3 separate regions of the Homo sapiens genome follow, and all the other regions are linked to region 3. The links are contacts of gene promoters, found by promoter capture Hi-C in blood cells and fetal thymus (Javierre and others, 2016). All regions are on one chromosome and are shown on one strand. The core of a region is centred on a gene start or on the middle of the fragment in contact, and the rest is flanking DNA. Distances in the headings are between cores, read along the strand shown.

Region 1 (4,609 bases), core at 290-2,789, 570 kb before region 3:
CCACAGGCCCCTCCAGAATCCTTGGCGCTACCCAATAAGGGCCTGCAAAGGAAGTTGAAGAGCTGTGGCAAGGGCTCCTTTTTAAACATCGAGCCTGGGAGGGACGTAGTGAAGGCTGCGGCAAGGGCTCCTTTTTAAACATCGAGCCTGGGAGGGACGTAGTGAAGGCTGCGGCAAGGGCTCCTTTTTAAACATCGAGCCTGGGAGGGACGTAGTGAAGGCGGAGCCACTCAAACCAGCCGCCAGTGAGGAGGCCCTGAATCCCTGGGGAGCTGGCCCTGCCCGGCAGGCCTGGATGAACGTGGGTGGGGGAAGAGGAAGAGAGCAAGGGGCAGGGCCCGCTGAGGGCAGCCCTCCCCTCTAATTGGCGCCTGACAGGGCTGTGATCTGGGCTGCCAGCTTTTCCCATGCAGCCAGCGCTCCCTTCATCTGGGTGCCAACATCCGATGGTGGCACTGCCCCTTTGGGCCTTCCTACAACTCTTCCCAGCACTTCTAGGGTCCTCAGCCCTCATACAGCTGGGAACTGGTGGGGCCAGAAGGTGCCATTACCTTGCCATGGTCAGGGTAGGTACCCTGGGGACTCAGTGCAGGCAGGAGACTGCTCTGGAACCCACAGGGCCTGAGTCTAGGCCCAGGGTCCAGCCACTTAAGGCCTCAGCCCAAGACCCAGAGCCAAGGGGTTCAGCAGTGTGGGGGCTGCTCTCAGGAGCTCCCTGGCAGAGGCCCTCCCCAGCTGACCAATGGCCCGCGGTCACCATCTCGCCCGGTTTCTGAGGCGTCACCTGCCCAGGGAGCCTCCTACAGGCAGCAGTGCTGGTGGCCAGGCGACCTGCCCAGGCCCTGCTTCTCCCCACCACCAAATGCTCCGAGAGCTGAAGCCAGCGGGGAGCTCGTCCTCAGCACACAGCTGGCACGTGGTGGCAGGACCCCCCCCAACCCCGTCCAGCTGCAGGCTCCAGCCCGTGCCCCCTACCTGGCCTCCTGACTGTCCTGGCGCCTGCTTGTCAGGGTCATGCATACACAGGGTGGTTCCACCTGGCGAGGGGTATGCCTCCTGACTGTCCAGGACAATGCCCCTGGCCTGGGGAACATAGCCCTGCCTGGAAGAGCCCCAGGAACACTGGCTGGGATAGGGCACTTGCCAGGTCCGGTCCTGGAATCTCATGGCAGGGAGGAAGGACAGGGCACTCACTTCCTTCCACCTCCCACAAGGAACACAGGGGGCCCCACAGCCAGAGGAGCCCGCCCAGCTCAGCCCTCCCCACCTAGCATCGTCCCACGTGGCAGTATCTCAGCTCCCTCCCCACGGCCCCATCTCCACCGCTCCCACCCCCCCTCCCCTCACCCCCGCCACACCTGGACCACTGGGTGTCCCCGGCCATGTCCCTGCGGGCCTCGTCTGGGGGTGGCTGCATCGGGCTTGGGGTGCTCAGACGGCGTGGGCACAGCTGTGTCCCGGGGCTGCCTCCCAGCCCAGGCTGACCCACCCGGGCAGCACCGCCCAAGTCCACGTGTCAGTCCCAGCGCGCTTCCGTCTGGTTCTCTCAGGACTTGTCGCCCCCAGACGGCCACCAGGGCGGGCAGGCGGGGCAGGGCGGGGCATACCACTCGGGTGCCCGCCCCACCCTGCTGACGTCGGTCCCTGCTGCCCCATAGGAGCGGGGCCAACGGTCGCCCTGGCTGGGTCGCCCTGACTGTCCGACGCGCCCTGGCTCAGCCCCAGCAGAGGTTAGTGTGGGGGCAGAGGGGGATTCCCAGCAGCAGGCCGGTCAGACTGGGGCTTCAGAGAAGGGCCCTGGTGGTAAGCCTGGTCCAAGAGGTGCCAGCCCATCCCTTGGACACGACACGGAGCCATGGGGCCGTCTGTCCTCTGTCTATAAAATGGGGAATGATGGCAGTCCCTGCCTTACCGATCAAATAAAATCAGGGATAAAGTCTTAACCAAGTGCAAAGAGAGTAAAAGTACAGGGTCACTGATTTTTAAAATGGATCTTTCGGGGCAGGGATGGGTCCACTCCTGAGCCCTTGGACCAAGCCTGGGAGAGCTGGACAAATCCAGCGCTGGCCCATGTCTTCTCAGCAGATGCCTGTGAAGGTTGTCATTGGCCCCTGGGTTCCTGGACAAAAGGTGTCCTGAGGACCCATCACAGGCCAGGTTCTGGGCTCGGGGGCAGGGGTGACGGGGTGGGGCCCCCACTCTGTGTGCTCCTGCTGCCATGCCAAGGATGAAGCCAGCAGGGGAAGGCCTCAACCATGCAGCCTTTCCCCAGGAGGCGGCAGGGCCTGCTCCTCAGGCGTTGCCCCCACCTCCACTAGGGCCCACCTCAGTCCATCCTCCACGCAGCAGCCACCACCCAGGGGCCGAGGGAGACACGTCTAAGGCAGGGCCTTGCACTTAGAACAGACCCACATTTACCCCCTCCCTCCCCCTAGCCCTCAGGTCTCCAACAGCCCAACCCACTGCACTGCAGGGCCTGCTCCCAGGGCCCTCTGAACAGAAAGACACGGGCACCCTGAAAAGCAAGGTCATACTTTCATCCATCCTGACGTAGGGTAGGTGAAAAGATGGTGGCAGAGAGAGGTTTATTGCCCCAAACAGCCCTAGCCCATAGCCAGGAAGTTTGGAAACTGTTGCTAAACGTATCGCTGTCAACAGCACCCTCTTTGAGGTGATTCGCTTCCATTCACTCTGTGATGGTGATTTCCTACCGAGATCTGTGATCATGCTGCAGCAGACATTTGCCATCTGGTTACCCAAAGTCCCCTTCCTCCTGGAGCTGATGTTCTGGGGCAGGTAGACAAAAATCAAAGTAGTGAAAGGGGTAGGGAAGGGGTGTTACTTCAAATAGGTTGGGCTGAGGAGGCACCCCTGGACACCTGAGTGAAGGCTGGATGAGCTGAAGAAACGGGCCATGCAGGGATGGCTGGGTGGGTGAAGGGGCCATCTCACAGGGACATTATAAAGCTGGGTGCTGGTAGTGGCCAGATGGAGGCTCTCCACGCTTCTGGTGGATTCTGAGAGCTGCCCCGCACCCAAGCATCTTTGAGGCCTAAGGTGAAAAATTATGTAGGGACAATAGACAGTCAACACCTGGGTTTTCAAGGACACAGGGTGACCTTGCGGACAGGGCAGTCACAGCCAGCACCCACTGGCCTCTGCTTCTGGAAGGCTGCGTGCCTCCCTCTTGTTGGGCCTGGCCCACCTAACTTCTTGTTTATTTCAAGTGCTGCTATAGGGAGACGATGCTAGAGATTTTCCTAAAGCAAATCCACACCTCACTACGTATGGCGCCCGTTGCTCAGCCTCTGCATCCACACCCCCCACAGACGCCCCAGGAGACCCCGCACAGCTTCTTGTAAACCAAGACAAGCCAGCCCTGGGCCTGGGGCTCCTCCCTGCACCCCACTTAGCCCTGCAACCTTCCAGCCCAACTACAATTCTCAAGATGAGGAGTCCATGAAAAGGAGACTGACAGATGACACTTTCCTCTGCCATGACTGACAGGCAGCAGCAAGAGGGAAGACCGCGGTACTGGACATCACGTGCGGGAACTGCCTCAAAGGTGGGGGCACCTTTCGGGCTGAGCTAACCCAGTCAACAGCAGACTGGAAAAAGACAAAGAACTGTGTGAGATGGTGCTCAAAACCAGAAAGATGAACTCTGCAATGACGACAAATGGATTCGGTGTGATGTGGGCGTGATACAGAGAAACATTCTTGAAGGTTCTGGAGCAGTTCATTTTTCTCAGAGCTGGTAAACTCATTGTTCGAATCTTACAAGCACTAGTGTTCAACATTTCTAAAACTGGGAGGGCCCAGTGAGGACTGGATGGGCACACAAATCTATAAACGAGCACAGACGAACCCTGGGCTGCTGTGACCGCCAGCACCTCTTCCCGTTCTTCCATGACCCTCCATGGCAGAGAATTCTTGGTGACGGGTCAGCCTGCTTCACTTTCAAAGCCAGCTGGGAAAATTACCAAAGCTGTCAGTCACACACCGTGATCCACAAGAGGGAGAAAACCTTGTTTGTGTGAGGAACGCCTACAGATGTGTCTCCAGGAAGCAGAAGTCACAGCCAGGCGGAGACCTTGCCTGACACGGGCAGCTCAAGGCAACAGCAGCTCCACCGCTTCTCCCTGGTTCCCAAGCTCATCAATTCCACCTCAAATACACAGAGACCCAAGGACAGGAGGCGCTGCTGCACCCAGCACTCTTCATCTCCGAAGTGAGCCTGCGGGGTGACCAACTGCCTTGCATGGACGGACAGCTGGCGGAAGAGCCTGCAACGTGACCTGCATTTACAAACATGAGGAAACCCACTCACCTTCAGTTGTTACTCCTTTCATGAATTCTTTTGGTTATAGCTGTGCCTATGGCTTTACGGGCTTCACCTGATAAATGGTCTTCTGTACTATGGACAATTTGGACCCGTAAACCTGGCCTTGAACTAGGTGACACTGAAATGTTACAGACAAATCAGAACGTCACATTCCCTTTAAATATTCCCCGCACACATGCACCAGGCTGACTGGTGGATACTGGGGTGTGAAATGAGAGAAACAGCCCCCACTGTGCAGATGTGGGGACATGATTATTATCAATTA
Region 2 (4,529 bases), core at 300-2,799, 620 kb before region 3:
GGCCTCCTCCGGCCACCTGAATGCTCCCCCGACCCCGGCCCGTGGCCACAATGACACCCACTCACCCTTCAGACCCAGGCCCAAACACAGCGGCCTCCTCCACACCAGGTATCCTCAATTCCCGGTCTGTGCATCAGCCCCGAAGGCGGGGTGGGGTCCCAGGACAGCGCCTCAGACAGACGCTTCCATCCTCGGGGCCCCTGCGCTCCTGGCGGGCGTGTGCTGGGGGTGAGGCCGGTGCTGCAGGACGCGCAGCCAGACAGGCCGCCAGCCCGGCAGAGGCTGCCTCAGACCCATTCCCCTCCGCCAGGACAAAGGCCTGAGTTTCCCACGGAGACTTATCCATGCATCTGTCTCCTCACACCCCGCACCTGGCAGGGAACCACCGGACAGGCCGGTCACTGCTGCGTTCCCAGAACCTTCCAGACAGCACATCCGCCCCACACACGTGCAGCTCCCACTCCCCTCCCGGGGCTGCGCACACTGCCCCATCGCTGTGGCTCCTCCTGGGGCGGAGCCTGGAGAACAGGGAGGGTATGCGGCCCTTCCCAGGTCACACAGAAGGGCCCGACGGGCCGCTCCACCTCGTGCCATAGGCCAGGGTGGCCCAGTCTCCCACCCAAGCCAGGACCGGAGAAGCCACTATCCCTCAGCACACTCTAGCCTCAGCACTCGGCCGGGCCTCCAGGCAGGTTCCCACCTGGGAGAAGGGCTGGGGTTCTGGCCTTCATGCGGGGTTGGAAGAGGACTGAAAAGGCGAGTCCGAGGCTGGCCACATTCCCATCCAGTGTGGCTGGACCCCAGGGGTTCGGAGGCTCCGGGAAAGCCCACCAAGCCTCACGCGTTTCGCTGATAGATGCCCAGGAAGCGGCTGGCAGGGAAGAGGCGGTCCTGCAGCTCACAGAGCTCCCCTCCCACCCCCGGGGAGCCCCAGGCCGCGCTGCCCTCCACCTTCCCGCCCTCCCCGGCCTGCAACGCTCGTGGCGTTTTTCAACAGGTTCTAGAAACTCCCTCTCACTCTGCCCCTCAAGCCTGGCCACAGGGCGCCCCGAGCAGGGAGTGTGCGGGCTCCGGGTACACGCTGCGCCGCGGCTGCACCAGAGCGCCCACGACCCTGACCCCGACCCGAAGCGGCCCCTCAGCGGGACAGGGTGTTGGCGCTGGCGCTGCTGCTATTGCGGCGCGCCCCCCCGCTCTGGCCCCTGCGTGTCGCCAGGGACTCTTGCGCTAGGGTCAGACTCAAAGACGGACCGAGGCGGGTGCCCACCTGGGACGCGTGCGTTTGGTGGCGGAATCCCCGGGGCGGCCGGAGGCGGCGGCCGGGGAGTCGAGAAGCAAGTACTAGCGCTCCAGGACCGCGCGCGCCGCCCCGCGCCGCCCCGCGCCGCCCCTCGGTCCAGAGCCCCCACCCCCGGCCTGTGAGCCTGCGGCGCTGGTGGAGCCCGGCTCCAGGAAGAGGAGCTCACCCGGTCCCCCCTGATTGGACAGCAGCGAGGTCCCACCGGGCGCCTCCGCGGCTTAAAACCGAAGCGGGGGCGAGGGGGAGGTAGAGCCCGCCCCCTGCGCGTCGCGGCTGGGAGGGAGAGGAGGTGGGAGAGAAGGAAGAGGCGGAGGAGGCAGCGGGCGCCGAGGCTCTGGGACCCGCAGGCAAGCCAGACCGACGCGCAGAGCCGGGAGCCTCATCGCAGCGGCAGCGGCAGCGGCGGGCTCGGGCCGGCCTCGGGGGCTGCTCACCCACATGAGCATCCGCCCACCCGGCGAGCCCCCGAGCCCAGGCGGCGCGGCCATGGCCGAGCTCAAGTCGCTGTCGGGGGACGCGTACCTGGCACTAAGCCACGGCTACGCGGCGGCGGCTGCGGGTCTCGCCTACGGGGCGGCGCGAGAACCCGAAGCGGCCCGCGGCTACGGCACTCCGGGCCCGGGCGGCGACCTCCCCGCGGCGCCTGCACCTCGCGCCCCAGCTCAGGCGGCGGAGAGCAGCGGCGAACAGAGCGGGGACGAGGACGACGCCTTCGAGCAGCGGCGGCGGCGGCGCGGGCCAGGGAGCGCGGCGGACGGGCGGCGGCGGCCGCGAGAGCAGCGGTCTCTGCGGCTCAGCATCAACGCGCGCGAGCGGCGGCGCATGCACGACCTAAACGACGCGCTGGACGGGCTGCGAGCCGTCATCCCCTACGCGCACAGCCCGTCGGTGCGCAAGCTCTCCAAGATCGCCACGCTGCTGCTCGCCAAGAACTATATCCTCATGCAGGCGCAGGCCCTGGACGAGATGCGGCGCCTGGTGGCCTTCCTCAACCAGGGCCAGGGCCTGGCCGCGCCCGTAAACGCCGCGCCCTTGACGCCCTTCGGCCAGGCCACTGTGTGCCCCTTCTCCGCAGGCGCCGCCCTGGGGCCCTGCCCTGACAAGTGCGCCGCCTTCTCCGGGACGCCCTCCGCGCTTTGCAAACACTGTCACGAGAAGCCGTGACCGCGCGGGCCCCCGGCCCTCCCGCACGCGTCCTCCGATCGCCCCTGTGACTGTCTCTCTGCCCGGACAGGAAAGGCCTGGAGGGACCCTGCAGACCAGGAGGAGGGGGCCCGACTTCGCTTCCAGCCTGTGCGCGGTGGACAGTTTAGCGCAGCGGGAAGCGCCAAGGCCGTCGGGGCGCGGGATTGAGCTCGAGAGCCGGACGCTGGACTCTGCGCCCGGGAACTCGCGGCACCCACTGGGTATTGTCGGGACCCAGCAAGTCTAGGAACGGGGGTGGGTAGAGCATCCTTCGGGCACTGCCGTTCGTCCCCAAAAGAAGACCACCGCGGGGTCCCAGGGCCACGGCGAGGACGGGCACTGGTCAGATTCCGGACAGGCGGTCCTGGCCCCGGGCGCACGAAAGGTGGAGACGAAGAAAAGCCGGACTTACTGGCTCCTGATCCTCTTGCAGTGGGCCTCGCGCTCCCGCTCCAGCCGGCCCTTCGTGCTAAACTGCAGGGCAGTGCTCTGTTCCTGAGGACGCGCGTGGCCGGCACCTCCCACCTCGGTGACTCCGAGACTCCGCAGCCCTGCGGAGAGCCCACGATGGCCGTCTGCAGAGGAGCTGGACCGCGGGCGCAGGAAGACCCCGGGGAAGGCCTTTTCCAAGTAGGAGTTTGTTCTATTTATTTGGGAATTGGACGCCGTCGCCGGCTGCCTCGAAGTCTGAGGAATTTGTCCCCTAAATGTCCCCTGGCCTCCCCCCCCCGCCGCCATCCGCTGCCTGGGACGTCCGCGGGGTGGAGTTGGATGGAGACCGCTTTGCGGGCCCTCTGCCTCGGGGGGCTGCGTGGAGGAGGGTCCTCACAGCCCGCGCCCTACTTAACCCTGACGGTCAGGGGAGGGCCCCGTCTAGCCCTGGTGTCCAGCAAACCCCCTCCCCACCGATCCCCTCTCCCTTCCGAGGGAGGAGGCCGGGCTACGGGTGAGTAAGCTGCTGCGGGCCCCGTGCCCCGCCGGGTGTGAACGGAGATGCGCTGCGCAGTGCCCGTCCTGCGCAGCTCCCAGCTCTGCCACCATCCGGGATCCAGGGAGCCGGGCAGGGTGCCCCCGGGGACCCATCTGTCCGCGCCGGTTTGCGCCCCGCGGCCCCGCCGCAGTATCCGGCTTTATTAACCCAATTTCCTCGGCTGTCGGTAATGCCAAGGGGAGAGGGCCGCCGCCCTGCAACGCGCCTGTCTACAGCGTTTAACTCTGATTAATACATTCCACAGGGCCTTCTGTACTTGCAAAATCAAGTGTATGGTTAAGTCTTATTCATAAAGACATATGCCTAATACTGGTTTCTGCTAATTTCCACTTTTATTTCTTCATTGTCTTTTTTTTTTCCCCTAACAGACTAGTTTATCAGTTTTGCACATTCGAAAAGCTGAGTGCCAGACACCGTTTTTCCCCTTTTAGATAAAGTGGGAAAGCTGGAAACTCAAATGCCCTTCACTTCTAGGGTCATTTCAACGTGATCTTAAATAAATTACCTGCTTATCAGAATTTGAAACAGGGGTGTTTATTCTGGTTAAAATCAGAGACATTGGTACATCATTTATATTCAGAATAAAGCATTTTATTGCCATTTATTTTATAAAAATAATATGGTTAAATTTTAATATCAAGTGAAATAGTGTTCATTTGTAGCTGAATTCACAATAATTTCAATTTTCAGATACTTGTGTCCACTCGAAACCAGAGTCTGAAGAGTCTCTGAGATGCTAAAACTCATCTAAAAGCAACCACTTATTATAGCACATGTGTGAAATCATAAGGAAAAGGGCAGAGGAAAAAAATCTCTCTTTCTCTCTTTGGGTGGAGAATAAGTTTTTGAAAAAACCACTTCACTAATCAAAAATTCTTCCGATTACTTAATTTAAATAAAAATTCAAGTTACATTTAAACTTTTTTGTACATGACAAAGCTGTGTGTCTACTGTTCTACAAACGTCTGCATGCTTCTCACTTGGCCTGAGTGGAGTGGAGTGTTTCGGAGAATTAGCTCGCCTTCTCTGCAGTGGCTGCTCGCGAAGCCACCT
Region 3 (4,569 bases), core at 1-2,500:
CCATCGGCCTTGGCCAATCGGAGAATGGAATCATCTGACTCACCCTTAAGAAAAAAAAAAAAGCACACTAAGAATATTTCCACTCCGGCTGCCTGAGATGGCAGAAGGTCAGCTGTGCCACCAGCCCACGTCTCTCCCCCGCTGAGCGAATGGAGACAGGCGCAGAAGGGGAGCCACCTCTCCCGGGGCAGCCTGCAGCCTGACTATGGTGGAGCGGGGTCGGGGGGGCACCTCCTAGTGAGAGGCAGAGTCTGCTGCCTGAGTGTCTTCTCAGAGCACCCCTCTTCCACCCTCAAGAAGCGGCAGGCGGCCAGCCCAGTCCAGCTGGCTCAAACTACTCTGCCAGCAGATCTACTCAGGCACCATCACACACTCCAATGCGCACGGTAAAGTCCACGATGTCCCGAAGTGATGAGCAAAGCCCAGGGAAACACTCACCATCCTACGAATGGCCCCGCAGATAGCATAAGTTTTAAACTGGCCATTAAACCTGCCTGTGACCTTGTCAACCTAGAAAGAGAAGAAGGGTCACAAACCACTCCCCCAGGTTTGGGAAACACCAATCCTCAAAGCCAGCCTCTGCCTGTACCTTCACCCCAGGGGCTCCTCCACAATGGGACAGCCTGCCTTTCCCGCACATATATCACAACCTTCCCGCCTCCCGGGCTCCCAGCTCACCTCGGCCACGTTCATCTGGATGGATGCGTGGTCCTTGGCACCGATGATGCGATTGCTAGCGGAGCTGTGGAGAAAGGGCGCAGTGAGCAGAGGGGACTTGGGCGGTAAGAATGAAAGAGGGGACGAGGGAGGTTGGGGGTATATGAATGGAAAAGAGTAACGTCGGGGGCAGGACAAGTTAGGGACGTGACGAGGTAAGGACGGGAGGGGTGTGGGGGAACAAGGGCAGGCGAGGGGACGTGGTGGTTAGGTAAGGACGGAAGAGAGGCATGTGGGGGGCGCTTACCATTTCCGCGGCACGTACAGGTCCACGAACTCGCCGGCGTCGTTCTGCATTTCGAGGCTGGGCTGCGCCTGGGGAGTCACCGCGCGGCGCCGTGAGTACGGCCGGAACCGTGCCCCGGCTCCCGGCGCAAACCGGCCCCTAGGGTCACGGCCCCAGCCGCACCCAGCACCCCGCACCCCGTCCCCCGCGTCCAAGCCCCCACTCCCGCCCCAGCCCCAGCCCTGAGCCCGAAGCCCGCGCCGCGCGCCACACCTGCTGCCACCACACCGCGCGCGAGAGAGAAAGGAAGCAGCTAGTCACCCGGCAGAGATATCGGCGGGCAAGGAGGGGCCTCGGCGAGCGCTTCCGGGTCACGCCACCACAGCGAGTCTGCGCGGTGCGTGCTTGCCGGCCGTCGCCGTGACGCACTTCCGCTTCCGGCAAGGAGGTTCTCGGACCCCAGCCTGCTGGCCCTGGGGCGCGGGGCGTCGTGGGGGTCGTTGTCGTTGAGGGTCGTTGCCGTGTGTGGCGTCTTAGCCTGGCCCCTGGGTTGTGCCCCACGGACGCAGTCGACCCCTCTGAGCGCCTCGGGAGCCCCGAATAGCAGCTGGGAGAAGGGGCGAGGACTGAGCCTCGCTGCCCGCTGCCGGCCGGGCTAGAGATACGGGCGTGCCCCCCATTGTGCGCCTCCCGCCCTCCGGTCCCCTCACCCTGCGGCCACCTGGGGCGTGGGGCGGTGCTCCTGCCCGTGCACGTAGCCGCTGCGAGCGGAGGCCTGCTCACCTGGTGCCTGCTACTCACTCCCCCGGGCCGGTGGGCGAAGGACACCCGCAGGAACTCGGCAGAGGAGAAATTCAGACGGCTCCCGAGGGTAGGAAAAGACCCCGGCCCACCGTGGAATCTGAAACACCCGACCACTCTGCCATCCCATGTTTCACCAGTCAGACCCCCAGGGCAGGGCAGGGGAAGCAGAATGCAAACTGGGGCACCGTTTCCCTGAAGCGTGTTGGCCGCGTTTGTCGTAGTGCTAGAGGTGCATACCCTTGGACCCCGAAAACCCATTCCTGGGAATTTGCTCCAAGGAAGTAAAGATGTTACAAAGATGGACCCACGAAGTATGGTCGTTGGTTATGGGTGGGGTCTTGAGGAAGGCCTTGTTAGTAGCCTGAACCCTGTTGCCAGGAGAAGCTCCAAACCGGTAGACGGAGGGAGCAGCGCGGCCTATGTTGGGGTCTTCTCTGGGCGGGGGACATGATCCTAGGATGTAGAACTAGCCTCAGAAAACTTAAGACTCAGTGGCCAGGTGCGGTGGCTCAGGCCTGTAATCCCAGCGCTTTGGGCGGAGGTGGGTGGATCACCTGAGGTCAGGAGTTCGAGACCCGTCTGGCCAACATGGTGAAACCCCATCTCTACTAAAAATACAAAAAATTAGCTGGGCGTGGTGGCAGGCGCCTGTAGTCCCAGCTACTCGGAAGGCTGAGGCAGGAGAATGGCGTGAACCCGGGAGGCGGAGCTTGTAGTGAGCTGAGATCCCGCCACTGCACTCCAGCCTGGGCGACAGAGCAAGACTGCGTCTCAAAAAAAAAAAGTTTTTTTATGTTTAATTTTTTGGGTACATAGTGGGTGTGTACATTTATGGGGCACATGAGATATTTTCATACCGGCATGCAGTGCGTAGTAATCACATGGGGTATATGGAGCATCCATCACCTCAAGCATTTATCCTTTGCGTTACAAATAATCCAATACTATACTCTTTTAGTCATTTTAAAATGTGCAATTAAATCATTATTGACTGTAGACACCCTGTTGTGCTATCAAACACTAGGTCTTATTCTTTCTGTCTTTTTATACCCATTAACCATCCCCATTTGCCCCCCTCCTCCCACTGTTCTACCCTTCCCAGCCTCTGGTAACCATCTTTCTACTGTCTGTCTCCACAAATTCAATTGTTTTAATTTTTAGCTCCCACAAATAATAGTGCTGTGATAAACATCGTAGCACATGTATCTCTTCCTTTCTTTCTTTTTTTTTTGAGACAAAGTCTCGCTCTGTCACCCAGGCTGGAGTGCAGTGGTGCGATCTCGGCTCACTGCAACTTCTGCCCCCAGAGTTCAAGTGATTCTCCTGCCTCAGCCTCCTCAGTAGCTGGGACTACAGGCATGAGCCACCACACCCGGCCAGGTATCTCTTTCATATACTGATTTCCTTTCTTTTGGGTATATGCCCAGCAGTGGGATTGCTTTATTTATGGCAGCTCTATTCTTAGTTTTTGTTTGTTTGTTTGTTTGTTTGTTTGTTTGTTTGAGACGGAGTCTTGCTCTGTCTCCCAGGCTGGAGTGCAGTGGTGCGGTCTTGGCTCACTGCAACCTCCACCTCCCAGGTTCAAGCGATTCTCCTGCCTCAGCCTCCAGAGTAGCTGGGATTACAGGGGTCTGCTACCACGCCTGGCTAATTTTTGTATTTTTAGTAGAGATGGGGTTTCACCATGTTGGCCAGGCTGGTCTTTAACTCCTGACCTCGTGATCTGCCCGCCTTGGCCTCCCAAAGTGCTGGGATTACAGGCGTGAGCCACTACACCTGGCCTACCAAACATTTTTTAAAGAACTAATACCAATCCTACTGAAACTATTCCAAAAAATAGAGGAGGAGGGAATGCTTCCAATCATTTTATGAGGCCGGTATTATCCTGATACCCAAATCAGACAAAGACACATCAAAAAAAGCAGATTAGAGGCCAGGAGTGATGGCTCATGCCTGTAACCCTAGCACTGTGGGAGGCTGAGGCAGGCAATTGCTTGACCTCAGGAGTCTGAGGCCAGCCAGCCTGGGCAACATGGTGAAACCCCTCTACAAAAAAATTTAAAAATTGGCCGGATGTAGTGGTGTGTGTCTGTAGTCTCAGATGCTCAGGAGGCCGAGGTGGGAGGATCAGTTGAGCCAGGAGGTGGAGGCTACAATGAGCCATGATCATGCCACAGAACTCCAGCCTGGGTGACAGGAGACCCAGAAAAAAAAAGAGAGAGAAAGGAAGGAAAGAAAGAAAGCCACAGACTGGCAGAAAATATTTTCAAAACCTGTATCTGATAAAAGACCTGTATCCAGGCTGGGTGCAGTGGCTCACTCCTGTAATCCCAGCACTTTGGGAAGCCAAGGCGGGTGGGTCACCTGAGGTCAGGAGTTGGAGACCAACCTGGCCAACATGGCAAAACCCTGTCTGTACTAAAAATACAAAAATTAGCTGGGCCTGATGGTGCACGCCTGTAATCCCAGCTACTGGAGAGGCTGAGGCAGGAGAATCACTTGAACCCGTTGGGCAGAGGTTGCAGTGAGCCGAGATCTCGCCACTGCACTCTAGCCCGGGCGACAGAGCGAGACTCCGTCTCAAAAAAAAAAAAAAAAAGGAAAGAAAACATATGTCCATTCGGAGACTGGTACTGAAATGTTCATCGAGGCTTTATGTGTCATAGCCAAAAATGGAAACAATCCACACATACACCAACAGGCAGATGGATAAATAATGGTACGTCCCCCTCGAAAGACAGCATACTGTGTGATTTTATTTGTATAAACTCTAGAAAATGCAAACCAATCAAAACTGACAGGAATCATGTTGGTGGTTGCCT

What was found. The method cuts DNA at HindIII sites, captures the fragments that hold promoters and counts their contacts. A CHiCAGO score of 5 or more calls a contact.
Region 1: the fragment with the promoter of SLC17A9 here is called in contact with the fragment with the promoter of RPS21 in region 3 in 1 of 17 cell types (neutrophils); the score reaches 5.8 in neutrophils.
Region 2: a contact is called between the fragment with the promoter of BHLHE23 here and the fragment with the promoter of RPS21 in region 3, in 5 of 17 cell types (non-activated CD4 T cells, total CD4 T cells, activated CD4 T cells and 2 more). The highest score is 8.5, in non-activated CD4 T cells.

The regions. Positions count from the first base shown.
Region 1 is chr20:62,949,639-62,954,247 of GRCh38, reverse strand. It overlaps SLC17A9 (solute carrier family 17 member 9), which reads right to left and starts at 1,539. Exons shown (of 13, transcript NM_022082.4): 1 at 1,359-1,539. The coding sequence starts at 1,417. RefSeq lists silencers at 1,319-1,418, 1,429-1,748 and an enhancer at 1,300-2,129. The HindIII fragment of the contact is 6,510 bases long and covers 1-4,609 here.
Region 2 is chr20:63,003,984-63,008,512 of GRCh38, reverse strand. It overlaps BHLHE23 (basic helix-loop-helix family member e23), which reads left to right and starts at 1,549. Exons shown (of 1, transcript NM_080606.4): 1 at 1,549-2,586. The coding sequence starts at 1,739. The coding sequence ends at 2,464. RefSeq lists enhancers at 417-1,124, 1,125-1,830, 4,155-4,529. The HindIII fragment of the contact is 10,733 bases long and covers 1-4,529 here.
Region 3 is chr20:62,383,784-62,388,352 of GRCh38, reverse strand. RPS21 (ribosomal protein S21) reads right to left here and starts at 1,250. Exons shown (of 6, transcript NM_001024.4): 1 at 1,217-1,250; 2 at 965-1,032; 3 at 679-742; 4 at 439-510; 5 at 1-44. The coding sequence starts at 1,014. It overlaps RPS21-DT (RPS21 divergent transcript), which reads left to right and starts at 1,364. Exons shown (of 1, transcript NR_186459.1): 1 at 1,364-2,050. RefSeq lists enhancers at 401-1,092, 1,093-1,784, 2,063-2,112 and silencers at 973-1,162, 1,593-1,712. The HindIII fragment of the contact is 6,470 bases long and covers 1-4,569 here.